Regions from separate parts of the Homo sapiens genome. Here region 2 is linked to region 1. Evidence: promoter capture Hi-C in 16 types of primary human blood cells and fetal thymus (Javierre and others, 2016). All regions are on one chromosome and are shown on one strand. Each heading gives the region's core, a stretch centred on a gene start or on the middle of the fragment in contact. The rest is flanking DNA. Distances are from core to core; before and after follow the strand shown.

What was found. Contacts are between HindIII fragments. The CHiCAGO score rates a contact against its expected background, and 5 or more counts as called.
Region 2: a contact is called between the fragment with the promoter of JAML here and the fragment with the promoter of SORL1 in region 1, in 1 of 17 cell types (neutrophils). The highest score is 5.1, in neutrophils.

The regions. Positions count from the first base shown.
Region 1 is chr11:121,447,405-121,453,922 of GRCh38, reverse strand. It overlaps SORL1 (sortilin related receptor 1), which reads right to left and starts at 1,609. Exons shown (of 48, transcript NM_003105.6): 1 at 1,307-1,609. The coding sequence starts at 1,591. SORL1-AS1 (SORL1 antisense RNA 1) reads left to right here and starts at 956. Exons shown (of 3, transcript NR_183636.1): 1 at 956-1,248; 2 at 4,024-4,227. RefSeq lists enhancers at 773-822, 843-912, 953-1,002, 1,013-1,202, 2,593-2,652 and 1 more and silencers at 1,493-1,542, 1,673-1,722. The HindIII fragment of the contact is 8,160 bases long and covers 853-6,518 here.
Region 2 is chr11:118,222,554-118,229,889 of GRCh38, reverse strand. JAML (junction adhesion molecule like) reads left to right here and starts at 4,879. Exons shown (of 10, transcript NM_001098526.2): 1 at 4,879-4,949. It overlaps MPZL3 (myelin protein zero like 3), which reads left to right. Exons shown (of 6, transcript NM_198275.3): 6 at 1-3,200. The HindIII fragment of the contact is 17,664 bases long and covers 1-7,336 here.

The DNA of each region.
Region 1 (6,518 bases), core at 360-2,859:
CAGATCTATTTTATTTTAGAAAGGAGGTATTTCAGCAGCATTGCATAAAGACAGGGTGACTGCAGTCAAGCAAAGGTCACTGAGACAATGCAGACAAAAACTAGAGAGCAGGCCACCTTCCCGGTATGACCTTGGACTAGTCACTTCACCATTCCACGCTTCAGTTTCTTCACCAACAAAATGACACAATAGGGTGATATGTTTACAAGGTTCGTCCTGGATCCAAGGGTTGAACATTTAACTCTGTATTTCCTGAAGAAATGGCTAAAGTGAAATTAGTGAGAAAAGGCAGAACTCAGGGTAATCTTTTATTAATAATTTCTACTTCAAAAGGAACAATTTGACTCTAGAAAACAAGTGTATTTACCCCCTCCTCTGGTCCTACTTTTTCTCCCCCACCGACCTTATACTTTTGCTGATGTCAATCTTAACTGCAGGACTGGGAGTCTCATGAGGCAATAACACGGTCAAATTAATTTTGCCAGTGCTGATCCTAACCTACAAACTCCATCTGCAATTCCTCGCAGTAAGTCTGACCATAAAAGTGAAATTCACGTTACTTATGATCTAATAAACCTATTGCCTGGGTAGAAATAAATCACTTATAGAATAATAATGCCCACCAAATTTCCTGCAGTCCTTTCAAATCTCCAAGTGCCATGAGGGGTATTCCTCTCCAAAATAAAGTTATCTTGACGGGGGTGGGAGAGTCAGCATCTTGAAGGGTGGGGAAGAAGGAATGGAGAGCATCTCACACGCTCGCCAAAAATTAAAAATTAAAAATTCAGCCTTTACACACGCACACACATACACACACCTCTTGTCTGACTGTACAGAGATAGTCGACAAGCTTTCAGGTTTGCCCACTTTTATTGTGCTAATAATGCTAAGTGTGGAAACCCCCACCTCGTGCTGTTCTGTGTAAGTGTACCGCAACTGCAGGGTGCTCGCCTCCACTGCCAACTGATGATACACTAAAGAAAGCCCGTTTTTTATCCAGATGTAAAATGAAGCTGCACCCCTCCTATACCTGCCGGAAACTACATCTCTCTGCACACACCCTGGGGTAATACGCACTGCACCCGGCGAGTTACCTGGAATACGTTTACTAAATCGACAGGAAGAAGGAAAGATCAATGCGATTCAAGTGCTGACGGTTGTACTCGTGAAGGAAAAAAACAAATGCAAGCCGGGAAGTCCCCAGTGGTGCCTGCACCTAGGAGGCGACTGCAACGGATGGATGCGGGGGTGAGGAAGTGCAGGGAGAGGAAAAAACTGGAGGGAGGCGGGTTGCAAAACTGCTCACCTGTCCGTACACCTTGATGGGCTCGGGCTGCAGGGCAGCGCTCCGTTTCCTCCGGAGCGGCTTCTCGTCCGCGCGGCTCGCCCCCCTGGCATCCCCGCGCGCCCACAGCCGCAGCTCGCGCGGGTCGCCCTGCACCACGAGGAAGCCCCGGTCCTGGGGCAAGGGCGCGCTGCCGCCGTGCAGCCTCTGCGTCCAGACTTCGCAGAGAGCTCCGGGCGGCAGCAGTGCGACCAGGGTGAATAGGAACGGGAGTCGCGACTCCCTCCTGCTGCTCCGTGTCGCCATGTTCGGGCGAACGCTACTGCAGGTGGCGCCGCCGCCAGGAGAGAATGTGCAGCGCGAGGCCAGGAGAGCCGCTGGGCCGGGACCGCGCGCGCCGCTCCCGGGGCTCCAGGCCGCCCGCGCCGCTCCGGGCCGCCCCGCTGCGCCCGCCGCCGCTGCCGCCAGGTCCCGCTCGGTTCGGCGCGGCGCCGTCACGTGTGAGGCTCGCAGCGCGTCCCTTTCGCGCACTTTCTGCGCTCGGCGGCCTCGGCGGCGACTCCGGCCCCTCCCTGGCGCGGGGATGGGGAAGTTAAGGCAGCGAGCGCCGGTGGGGGTGCGTCCCTTCCCTGGCGGGCACACCTCCTTGTTCTCCCTGCAGGAATGAAGAGTTGCATGGGGCTCGCTCGTTTTCTCTGGAGTTAGTTGCGTCCTATACAGGGTCGTGTCGAGGTCGTCCTAAACCGTGGCCACTTTCCTGAGTGCACAGCCCGCAGTAGCGCCACAAGACCACCTCCCCCCGGCCCCGGCCTCATCCCCACCTCCAGGGAAGAGTCCAGAGCCACAGAATTAGCTCCTAGAACGCAACCAACAAGAGTCCAGATGAACCCGCTCTATTGGGAAACTCACAGTTTTTCATCTACTCTGGGCACCACAACGTATTTGCAGGGGCCACAGCAAAAACTACCCTTGATCAAGCTACGTGCCCCAGCCTGAAGCACAGCAAATAAACATCCTGCACAGAGGCAGTAAAAACAAGGGTACATCTGACAAAGAATGCACCACACCTGGACAATTATTACACAGCTATACAGGGTGTGCTTGCACGCACGCATGAATACCTGTGCGTGGCACAGGGCCCCAGCGGCGGCTTGCTTATGATCCCTCCAAGGTGACCAAGCACTGAGCCACCCTGCCTCAGCAGTAAAATAGACATATTTACCAGTCCCTTCAACCCACAGCCAGGAGCTAGGCAAACACCCACAGAGGAGGGAGGACACACTTTAACCCTACATTCAGCTTGACGAGCCAAACTCTCTGAACCACAGGAGATAAAACTTCTGCCATGGAACTGCTAAGGTACGCCCAAGGAAAATATTTTTTTTGCAGGTTAGTGGGAGCAGCCAAAGTCTATGTACTACTGCAACCTTTCCTATTTCATTTTATGTTTCACTGCCCTCTGAACTCAGATCCTGGTTTTTGATAAGAATAAAGACACAGCAAGCAGGGCTGAAAGGGAGACTACCTTTATAGTTGCATACAAGCTGCTGTTCAGGGGAAGGAAGGGATGGTCAGTTCAATTTTCTAAAAACATTCCTCATCTCCGACAAGCCACGGTAGCCCGATTCCTACCCCGGCCCACTCTAGTACTTTTCAGGTAGCTTAGCAAAGCCCCCTCCTCTACCTAGGACTACCACTGACAACCTGCCAGAGTCAGGCCAGCTTGCCTCATCTCCCTGAAGCCAGTATTCAACCACCCTACCCTACCCCATGCCAGACTTGCTGGGGACCTCTGCCTCAGGTTCTGCACTCTCCCACCTCCTCCCACACCCGATTTTCTCCCCAAGTCAGATGATGTCTTTCTGTCCATCTCAACATAATTACAGAACCATCCAGTTCTCCCCACCAAGCAAATCATGCATTCTCTATGTTAACCACCCTGCTTTGTTCATTATACATTGTATACAGGTATCAAAATACCACACTTTCCCCAGTGTGGTATTATTGGGGTGCCTTCATCCTGCACCCCAACTTTGATGTTATTTCAGAGGGATTGAGGAAGTGGTAGCTTGTTTACAACCCAGAGCTGGTTTTGAAGCTGAGAGGAACGCCTTGCTCATATTGTGCAATTCAGCTCTAACTCATATATATAACATATATATTTATTATATACTTATATATGTCAATTAAAAATAATAATTCAAACAATCATGCATCCTCCAAGAAAGCCACTGAACCACTGTCACCTCCCACCCCTCATCTAGATCAGCTCTGTCTGGTCAGCATCACCTTACCAGGAATGGACAACCCCATGGTCTCTCAGGACCAGCAGCAAAGATATCTCTACTCCCATTTAGCCCTCAAAGGAAAATGAAGGGAATATGGCTAAAGTGAGAACATCCTGTAGATGATTCAATTATTGGGGTTTTTCCAACATATATTTAATGAGAACCTTCTCTGCAAGAGCAAGTGTCAGAGTCCCAGCAGAAAACAGAGACAGGAGTCTCCTAAGTGTGGATTTGAAGATGGGCATCTGTTTGCCCACACAAACTGCTGGCTTAAGGTTCAGATGGCCCCTTGCACAGAAGGACTAGTAGGGCAGGGCCAGCTACTTGCTCATTTTGATGTTGATTTGCAACTTGAATGCTAGAGAATTGGTAAGAATATTCAAACATGGTTAATTAACTCCTTGCAAGCCCTCCTATCTAATCATTATCTACATTCCAAACCATTCTCAGGTAGATAATCAGCAACCCCCCAAGACTGTGCCTGCTGCACAACTACAGAACGCAGTGGAAGACACGCTGAATTCTGAGTCAGAAGGTTGACTTTCTAGCTGTGGGGACTTGGCCAAACCTCCTCAGAGCTTCAGTTTTCTCATCTGTAAAATAGAGATCTTAATCCCTACCAATCTCACAGGACTGCTGAGAGTATCAGATGAGGTAAGTATATAAAATAGCTGTGCAAATTTGTGTGAAGGCCTCCAGAGAGAAATAGTGCATGCAGGTGGCATTAGAAACATAGATTCTAGTCCTGGCTTTGCAACCAAATTATTATGTAATTTTTTGTCTTGATCATCTTGTCTCTTACGATTTCTTCATAAGTTAAATGAAAAGACACCTTTCAGCCCTGACCACTCCCAAACCTTCAGGACCCCCACTGGGTTGTGAGATAGGAGCAGCCACAGGCAAGGTCACCCAGGACAGGAGTTAGAGCTGAATCGTGCAATATGAGTGAGGTGTTCCTCTCAGCTTCAAAACCAGCTCTGGGTTGTAAACAAGCTACCACTTCCTCTATCCCTCTGAAGTAACATCAAAGTTGGGGTGCAGGATGGAAGACAGTACCATATCCCCCTCTGTCCCATCTTGCATGGCCTTGCTCGGATGCTGCCCAGCATCATGACGAAAATCAACATGCACGGAAATGTAATGATAGACTCACAGCTGTGTATAAAACAGTCTTAAGCCTGTTGTCAGACTTTAAACTGCCCTCCTCTGTCCTACTGCCCATCTTAGGCCACTGGAGATGGAGGTAGAGGACAAACACACAGAGGTCACAGTGTCCTACATTTTTATCCAGGTGGAGTCATGTTTAAAATAGCAGCAAGGACAGCCACGAAGAGGAAAAAACTCCCCAAAGCCTAATTTGACTTCTTTCTGTTCTTTCTCTTCCTGTGGCCTTCTCACATGCTCACCTCCTGGCTGGCCAACTTCTATTCAGCCTTCAGGTTTCAGAGCAGCCTCCTTAGGCACCTAGGCTAGGTTACAGCCCTCACTCTAAGGCTCTAGTCCCCTGTAGCCTTTGATACTTCCTCTCTGGTCACTTGCTTAATCTCCATCTTCCTCTTAATCTACAAGCAGCAGAATGACAAAACCAGTCTATCTCATTCAAGTCTAGACGCCCAGTGCCCAGCATACTCTTGGCACATGGTGGCACTCAATGATATTTATAGGATGCATGCATTTAAATGAAGGTGAGAAGTGACACCACCTTTGTCCTGGTGGCAATGGTTGGTTAAGGGGCCAATGTAGTTGAATCTCAGATCTTTTCTTACCACCATCTGCTTCCCACCTCGTTTTCTCCCCCAAAGCAGGCCTCTCTGAGTCACGCAACCAGACCAGAGTCATTAAAGCAGAAAAGGGACTTCCCTGCCCTTAGGATGGTAAACATTGTTCCCTCTTCCATGTTACTTTGGCCAAATAACTACCATTGACCTCACCAGCTCAGGCAAAATAGAAATACCCGCCTGCCCCCAAAGAAATAACTCCTTCTCCTGCTGTTGCCAAAATCTACTTCAGTTAGGAAAGCGTCCAAGATAATTGATGAGGTTTAAAATACAAATGCACCCAGAGCATAGAATAAGTAACTTATATTCTCACTCTTGATTAAATTAAATCCAAAGAGGAGTTTCTGGAAATAGCAGTAAGTTATTTTGCATAGCAGTGATTTACATTTGCATAACATTATAACAGCATTATCTATCTCATTCCATCGCACAGCAACCCTTTGAAGTGGGCCAAAGCGAGAATTATTGTCACCCCCATTTTACAGACCTTAAGCATTGAAATTCAGAAAGGAAGACTATTTGCTTTGCCTAAAGTTAAACAGGCTTGCTAACTTACTGTTAGTAAGGGATAAATTTGAACCCAGGCTCCCTTTTTCTGCCACATCTGATACCTCTCTTAGGAAGAGAAGAGCTGGTATTTCAAGTCCTGGGTATAGTGGAACAGCGGGAATTAGGGCAGAAAGAAGGAAAGGGAGTGGCTGTAGGCCTCACCTCCTTCACAACTCAGCCCTGCCTTAACCAGCACTGTCTCCCTTCCTAGGTACCTAGCCTAGGTGAGATGCTGTATCTGCTTGACCCTCACGCCCTGATTGGGACAAGTTAGCAGTAATGTTACAGTTACAAAGCTCACAAGTCCAGTCCTGTTTTCTATACTTTTCTAGGAGATGAATTTAGCGAGGGATTTGGTTTCCAATGTGTTTCAAAACCTGTGAGAGAGCGCAAGTTTTAGAAGGTCCCTCAGACAGGCACAGTGACTTATGCCCTTAATCCCAGCACTTACAGAGGCCAAGGCGGGAGGATCGTTTGAACCCAGGAGTTCAAGACCAGCCTGGGCAATGTGTCGAAACCCCACCTCTACAAAAAATACAAAAATGAGCCAGGCATGGTAGCACATGCCAGTAGTCCCAGCTACTTAGGAGGCTGAGTGGGGAGGATCGCTTGAGCCCA
Region 2 (7,336 bases), core at 3,630-6,129, 3.2 Mb after region 1:
AGTCTGTATGACACAAGAAGAGTCACCTAAAGACAGGAAACATCCCATTCCACTGGCAGCTAAAGCCTGTCAGAGAAAGTGGAGCTGGCCTGGACCATAGCGATGGACAATCCTGGAGATCATCAGTAAAGACTTTAGGAACCACTTATTTATTGAATAAATGTTCTTGTTGTATTTATAAACTGTTCAGGAACTCTCATAAGAGACTCATGACTTCCCCTTTCAATGAATTATGCTGTAATTGAATGAAGAAATTCTTTTCCTGAGCAAAAAGATACTTTTTGATTCATCTTTGCTCTGGAATGTATTACATGTTTTCTTCCAACTGTTTGAAGGAGAATTTTGAATGTTTGCCACACCGCTGATACCCAAATAATTTTTTAAATGAAGTGGAGCTTGTGGCTTCCTGATGTGTCACCAGACAAAATATTCGCTTGGGATATGTATTCTTTGTTTTTTGCTCCATGTACACTTTCAGCTGTGAGTTAGTATAGGGCGTATACTTACCGGTTTAATGACCTCAACCTCAGTTGTGTTTGGATAACTTAGGGTGTATACCCTTAGTTTCCTTAGAGTTGGTAGGATCAAGTCATTGGTTTGCTTTGACTGGGTTTTTAAAGTATTAAGTACAGTGTCATCAATTTACAGTTAAGGAAAGGAATCGTGAAGTAGAAAAATTATTTTCTTTAGTCTTGCTGGTACAATTTGGGCTAAGGAGTCTTTGTTATTTTCTGTCTTGCTTTTTTTTTTTTTTTTTTTTTTTTGAGGCAGAGTCTCACTCTGTCGCCAGGCTGGAGTGCAGTGGTGTGATCTTGGCTCACTGCAACCTCTGCCTCCTGGGTTCAAGCGATTCTTGTGCCTCAGCCTCTCGAGTAGCTGGGATTACAGGCATGCGCCACCACACCCAGCTAATTTTTGTGTTTTTAGTAGAGACGGGGTTTCACCATTTTGGCCAGGATGGTCTCAATCCCCTGACCTCGTGATCCACCTGCCTCGGCCTCCCAAAGTGTTGGGATTACAGGCATGAGCCACTGTGCTTGGCCTGTTATTTTATTTTCTTATAACTACAACTTTTCTTCTTGAATTTTCAGGTCAGAGGCAAGAAAAACTCTTTACAGGTTTTTAGTGGGGGGCTTATGGAGTATTTCAGGAGTTCTTTGCAAATTAAATCATCTTTTCACTTGTATTGTTTTTCAAAACTTTGTTGATTTCTAAAATGTGCCAACTGTGAGTAAACTATGGTATTTGCAAGTGGTTTTTACATAATATTTGAGATGAGGAAGTGAGATTGTGCATGACATACTTCTCCTTTGTATTCTCTCAGTGCCTTACAGCAGGTTACTCCATTCTGCTATGACAACTTGTTTCAAATGTTAATTTACATAGGATTTTTTATAAGCCATTAAGGCATATGTATAGTATATCAGTAAAGATGGATGGTGCATATATAAATAGTCTTCTGTAATAGTGATTGGATTTACTTCTCAATTATGAGAGACAAAAATTATCCCCTCACCTGTCTCTATTCTTTCAACAGGTTGATCCCTTTTCATGATTTTTCATTAGGTGGTTCAGGAAGTTTCCATATTACAGCGCTTCAGACTGTATATGTTAGTTTAAAAATCACTTTTCTCTCTCTCAACTTCTTTCTTTTTTTTTTGAAGACTTAATTTAAAAAATTTGGGTTGTTAGATCCGTATCATAGATTTGGCCTAGCCTCTTCTGTTAACCTAGTCCACAGATGAGCGAATCTGGTTAGTTGAAGGACATTGTGATTTGACTCTGGTCACGCGAGGAAGTAGAAGGGCAAAGACAGGACCGGCAGTTTACATTTCCAGTGGTTAAACCTCACGGTACTTTGGGACTGCTTGTTAACTTTTGTGGTTGTCTGAGGCCAATCTAACGTGACCATTTCTGACACCTCAACAGAGAGAGGAAAGCAACTTGAGCAATGAGAGTAAATAACTTGGGCTCTCAGAGATTTGAAGATAGAGATCTCATTGTGAGGGGGACTATTTTGCAGGTCCTCATTTCTCCAAGAAAGAGATGGTGTTACAGGAACCCACTGAAAGCCATATCCCATTAAATGAGGAACTAATTTTGGCTGGGCCTTCTTGTAATGTCCTCGCAGGTGTGTTGTGAAGATTAATGCAGGGTAGTATGTTTGTAGATTGACACCTAGTCTAAACTTGAGGTAATTGGTGCTCTGTGAATACTCAGTCGTGTTCTTTTATAGCCTTAATCATGATTTGAACTAGTCCCTTGCTTTTTAAATGACTGAATGAAGTCCTTCGTGGTAAGGGAGTACGTTGATAACTTAGTTTACTATATGGGTTTGTGGTCGCATCCCAGTCATCAGCTGCTATCATTTTCCTTCTTCATCCCTTATACTGAGATTTGGGTTACAGCTTTTTATTCTTCGAAGGATCACAAAGCAGTGTACAGACACCTGCCTTCTTTAAGGATGAAAGGAAGATAAAGTGGTCTTTTTTTGTTTACTTATTTGTTTCACCTCTTGTTTGAGTAACTTCTAAGGTGCTATTCTCTCTCTCTTTTTGCTACCTCATGAGCTCTTGTCACAGCCATGGAAACCAGCCTCGTTTAGAAAGGGAACTTAGTTCAGAAGGGGTTAAAAGCCTTCCAGAATTTTTCTTTAGCTGCTGAAGTTTTTACATGTGGTTACATGACTTTAAGTTTTATGCATTACGCTCTTAATTCTATTACAAAATGTGGACTCACCAATTGCTTTGTGTTTTCCATGTGACCTGTTACTTCAGGCTACTTGGGGAACATCTTAGTCCTCTGTAGCTCCTGAACCCAGCACTGGTGCTTCAAGAGAGAAGGTAGCACGTCTTTGTTCAAAACAAAACAAAACGACACTTCTGGAGGCCACATCCTGAATATGAATGTTCTACTAAGTCACTCAGTTATGGTTCTAAAGGGAAACTGTAAGAAGACCCACAAGGAGTGGACCAAGACTATTATTTAATTGCACAACTTGAAACTTTGCTGCCAGAAGAGGCAGCTCCATTCCTTTGACTCCAGTGTTGGGCTGTTAACTGCTGCACCTCATTGCCTTTTTTTGTTTTTGTTTTTGTTTTGTAGGAGGGTAGGCACTGTTGGGCCATATGCACAAATATTGTAACTCTTGGTATCTTTACTGCATCATAGTCAATAAACTTCTTTGTACCCTTTGGCTACCTTTTGGTGTGTGCATATCTACATAAAAGGTGGGAATTGTCATGTGAAAAAGATGGGGGTTTGTGGTATTAAAAGCTGAATTAAATTTAAAAGAGTTTAATTGAGCACAGAATGATTCATGAATCAGGCAGTCTCCTGAGCCAGAGTGGACTCAGAGACTCCAGCGCAGCCACGTGGTGGAAGATTTATGGACAGCAAAAGGAAAGTCATGTACAGGAAACAGAAGTGAGGTACAGAAATAGCCGGATTGGTTACAGCTCGGTGTTTGCCTTATTTGAATAGTTTGAATCATTGGCCATCTTCGATTGGCCAAACTCAGTGACTGGCACAAGAGTAGACTAGAGTCCGTATACTATTCCATTTACGTTATAGTTCATGATGTACAGAGAAACCTTTAGGCCAAACTTAAAATATGTAAGGAGGCAGCTTTAGGCTAAACTTGATTTAACAGTGGTTTTCAGCATCGTGCAACCAGTCATGTCGGAGCTGTACCCCCGCAAGAACCTGCAGAGGTTCCGTGGTGTGCTGGAACCAGCTTACATAGCAAGAGCTGATTACAGGCTGAGTACCCCTAATCTGAAAATACAAAAGAGTGGTTGCTATTTCAACTCCAAAATCTGTAACTTTGAGTGCCAACATGATGCTCCAAAGAAATGCTTATTGGAGCATTTTGGATTTTCAGACTAGGGACGTTCAACTTGTATGTATTCGGCAAATATTCTAAAATCTGAAAAAAATATGAAATCTGAAACATTTCTGGTCCCAAGCATATTGGATAAGGGATACTCAACCTGTATTAAGTTTTTTAGGAATTTTGCAAGCCAGTTGTTAAACTGTTGGTAGCTTGAAATAGGTTATGATGGGAATATTTATGCTGTGGAGATTGCTGGCTCTCTAGCACATCACTTCTCAAGGACCATGCAGCGTAGTGCTTGGGAGCAAACGTTCAACAGCTTTTCAGATGATACAGGACAAGTTCCATGAGTCTGCCCATGCCTAGGTCAAGCCAATCTAGCCGAGGTTGAAGGTGCGTACATTGAGAACACCTATTTTGAAGTGGTGACTAAGACTGAGAGGTATCTTGAAGTGAAGAAACCTTGAGTTCTAATCTAGGATGTCCAAGTCACCCAAGAGGTTCTCTATGGGAATCAATGGCTGCCTGTATTCTGGAAATGCTGATATCACATGGCCAGAGGAAACTTTCATGTCTACATGGTGAGTTGGAGGACTGGGCAGGCGTATCTTTGGAAGCAGGGATTGGGTGATTGCCTGGCGAGGTTGCACCTCTGTTTTGAGAGGAAAAATAAAAGAGGTTGCTGTATCTTTAACACAGAAGGTTTTGTGTTAATATTACGTTTATTGTATTTTGTTTGCATGAAATGGATTTCTTTCTCAGCACCTATTTGCCTGGTGCCATTCAAGCTCCTACCCTCAGAGGGCTTGTCATCTAAAAGGGGAGATGGCACCTGAAGAGGTCTGAGTGTGAGGTTCACCTCAGTAGGTTGAATTTGTCACCTCTTTTTAGAATGAAAGTATACATAACAATTGGGTAATGGGCCAGATGACTGAAATGAGAACCTTGATTTAGAGGTTCCTGTTTGCATCTCTGCAACCACTTCAGAAGGCACGTGTTTGGTTTGCTCTGAGCCTAACCTAGAGTGCTCGCAGCAGTCTTTCAGTTGAGCTTGGGGACTGCAGCTGTGGGGAGATTTCAGTGCATTGCCTCCCCTGGGTGCTCTTCATCTTGGGTAAGCAGTTGCTTTGAATTTCTTAAGCCATTTTTTGAACTTTTCTCACACAGAAGTGTGCCAGTCCTGAAGGCTGGTTGAATTGGTAGTCTCTCAGGATTGTGAAGCTGCGATTGCAGAACTCTTGATCTCTGCAGGGGGATGTCATAAAGTAGTCTAATGGGTGCTGTTTCAGTTACTGTCGTGTAGAGTAACTTAGGTGAATCTCCTCAGCAAAAAGAGGAGCAAAGTTTCATCATAATAAGAGTACGTGACAATGATTATGACAAGGCTTCAGCTTTTAAGTCACCCGTGGGTTTAGGTGGAGCTGTGACTGGCTGTTCTTGAGCTCACAGCAGAGCTCTTTCTTCACTGTTTTTCTTTTTAGAAGACAGTTTTTAATTTTATTTTTAAACAAATTTTATTGTGTGTATTTAAGGTATACAACATGATGTTGTGGGATGCATGTAGATAGTAAAAAGTTTACTATGGTGAAGCAGATTAATATATCCATCATTTTACATAGTTATACCACTGTTTTTCTTCTCCCCATTATAGACAAACCAATATTTAACCTTTAGAAGCCCGAGACTTAAATCTCCCAAGAAAGCTAGGCTACTGTCCATGCTTGTTACACCCTCAGCACAGCCCTGACCTTGGGAAAGGCTGATGCAGGATGGTTTAGGTATAACCTACTCTGGAGAAGAGAGCAGGAGTAAGGACCTCCAGGGTCCCATTCGCGTAGAGCATTAACCGATGTGACCTAGACTGTGTTACAGAAGCCACGTGACCTACCAGTCTGTATTCAATGGCTTAACAATGGAAAATGAGGGCATATTTTAAGACGCATGGCTTAGAGTGGTTATATGGACTTGTAGACCTAAAAACATCTGAGAGCCTAGAAGTGCACAGCAGTGTGCAGATAGATTGAGAGGACTTGGCTCTGCAGGTGGACAACACTCTGTGAGTAAAAGAAGGCTGTGCAGTTGTCCGTTTGCTCAGTGGTTAGTTGTCCTTACTAGGGACAAACACTGAGAGACAGCAGCTCTCCCTTATTTTGTCTCATGATATTGTAATTTGGGGGGTAACTTTCACATCTTGTATGGTAGTCTCATTGTAGCATGTCTCTTTTCTGAAGATTTCTTTTCTGTAATATAAAGGGGTATGGATTTTTTGGAGGGAGGGGGTGCCACTTGTTCTCATTACCCAACAGGATATGGAGGAGAGTTGCTCAGAGAAGATTAGTATAGAGTCACTACAAGTCATTTAGGTAGCCAAAATGATAACTCCAAAATTTCTAAAAGGCAAAAATCTTTACTTGCTGATAGAGGGGAGAGTCAACTTTCCAAGCAGGTCGCAATAAAGACAGCATGATGCCAACCGAATCTATTTCCTCTCTCCTCCTTTTTCTGTTGTTTATTAAAAGGTAAACAAAAATCTCATTATTTTAAAATATTATGCAAAAATCTTGTTTATGAGAGAAAGCAAAATTTCACCTTTGCATTAGTATATTATTAATGTTAGATCCAATTCTTAATAAAACCTTATAAACAAATCTATACAATCATAGTTTGACCATAAGGTAAAACGTCCACAAACCTCTCATAATTCTTTACAATTTTCTGTTAAACAAATAAATTCTCTAGAAAACCATTATTCAGACACATGGGCCCGGATTCTGGCCCTACATCAGTGTGCTTTTATTTCAGTGTTCGACCTATGGAAAAACTAAGTAATCCCCTTTAAATCTTAGCCAACCTGCTTATACCCACAGAACTTTTCATGAGATTAACCCTTCACAAACCCTTTTCAACTTGCTTAAACCATCAGTTTTGTCACATTACTCTTTTTTTTTTTTTTTTTTTTTGAGACAGAGTCTCACTCTGTCACCTAGGCTGGCATGCAGTGGCACAATCTCGACTCTCTGCAACCTCCGCCTCCCGAGTTCAAGTGATTCTCCTGCCTCAGCCTCCCAAGTAGCTGGGATTACAGGCGCTCACCACCACACCTGATTAATTTTTGTATTTTTAGTAGAGACGGGGTTTTGCCATGTTGGCCAGGCTGGTCTGGAACTCCTAACCTCAAGTGATCTCCCCACCTCAGCCTCCCAAAGTTCTGGGATGACAGGCGTGAGCCACCATGCCCAGCTGTCCCATTACTCTTTTAGGTGAGGCCAATAGTTAAAACCCTCTGAGCTAGACAAAATTACGTTCTCTTTAACAGAAACCATATTCACACGCCTTCTTATAACCTCCCACCAAAACACATTCTTTACTTACACTGTCTTTATTTTTTATGTTATTTACACTGTCTTTATGTTTAAAAATCATTAGAGTCACGTGACCTAAAAGAGATTAAAGTTTCAATTTTTTCTGATAAAATGTTTGATTTTAGTTTCTTTAAGCCAA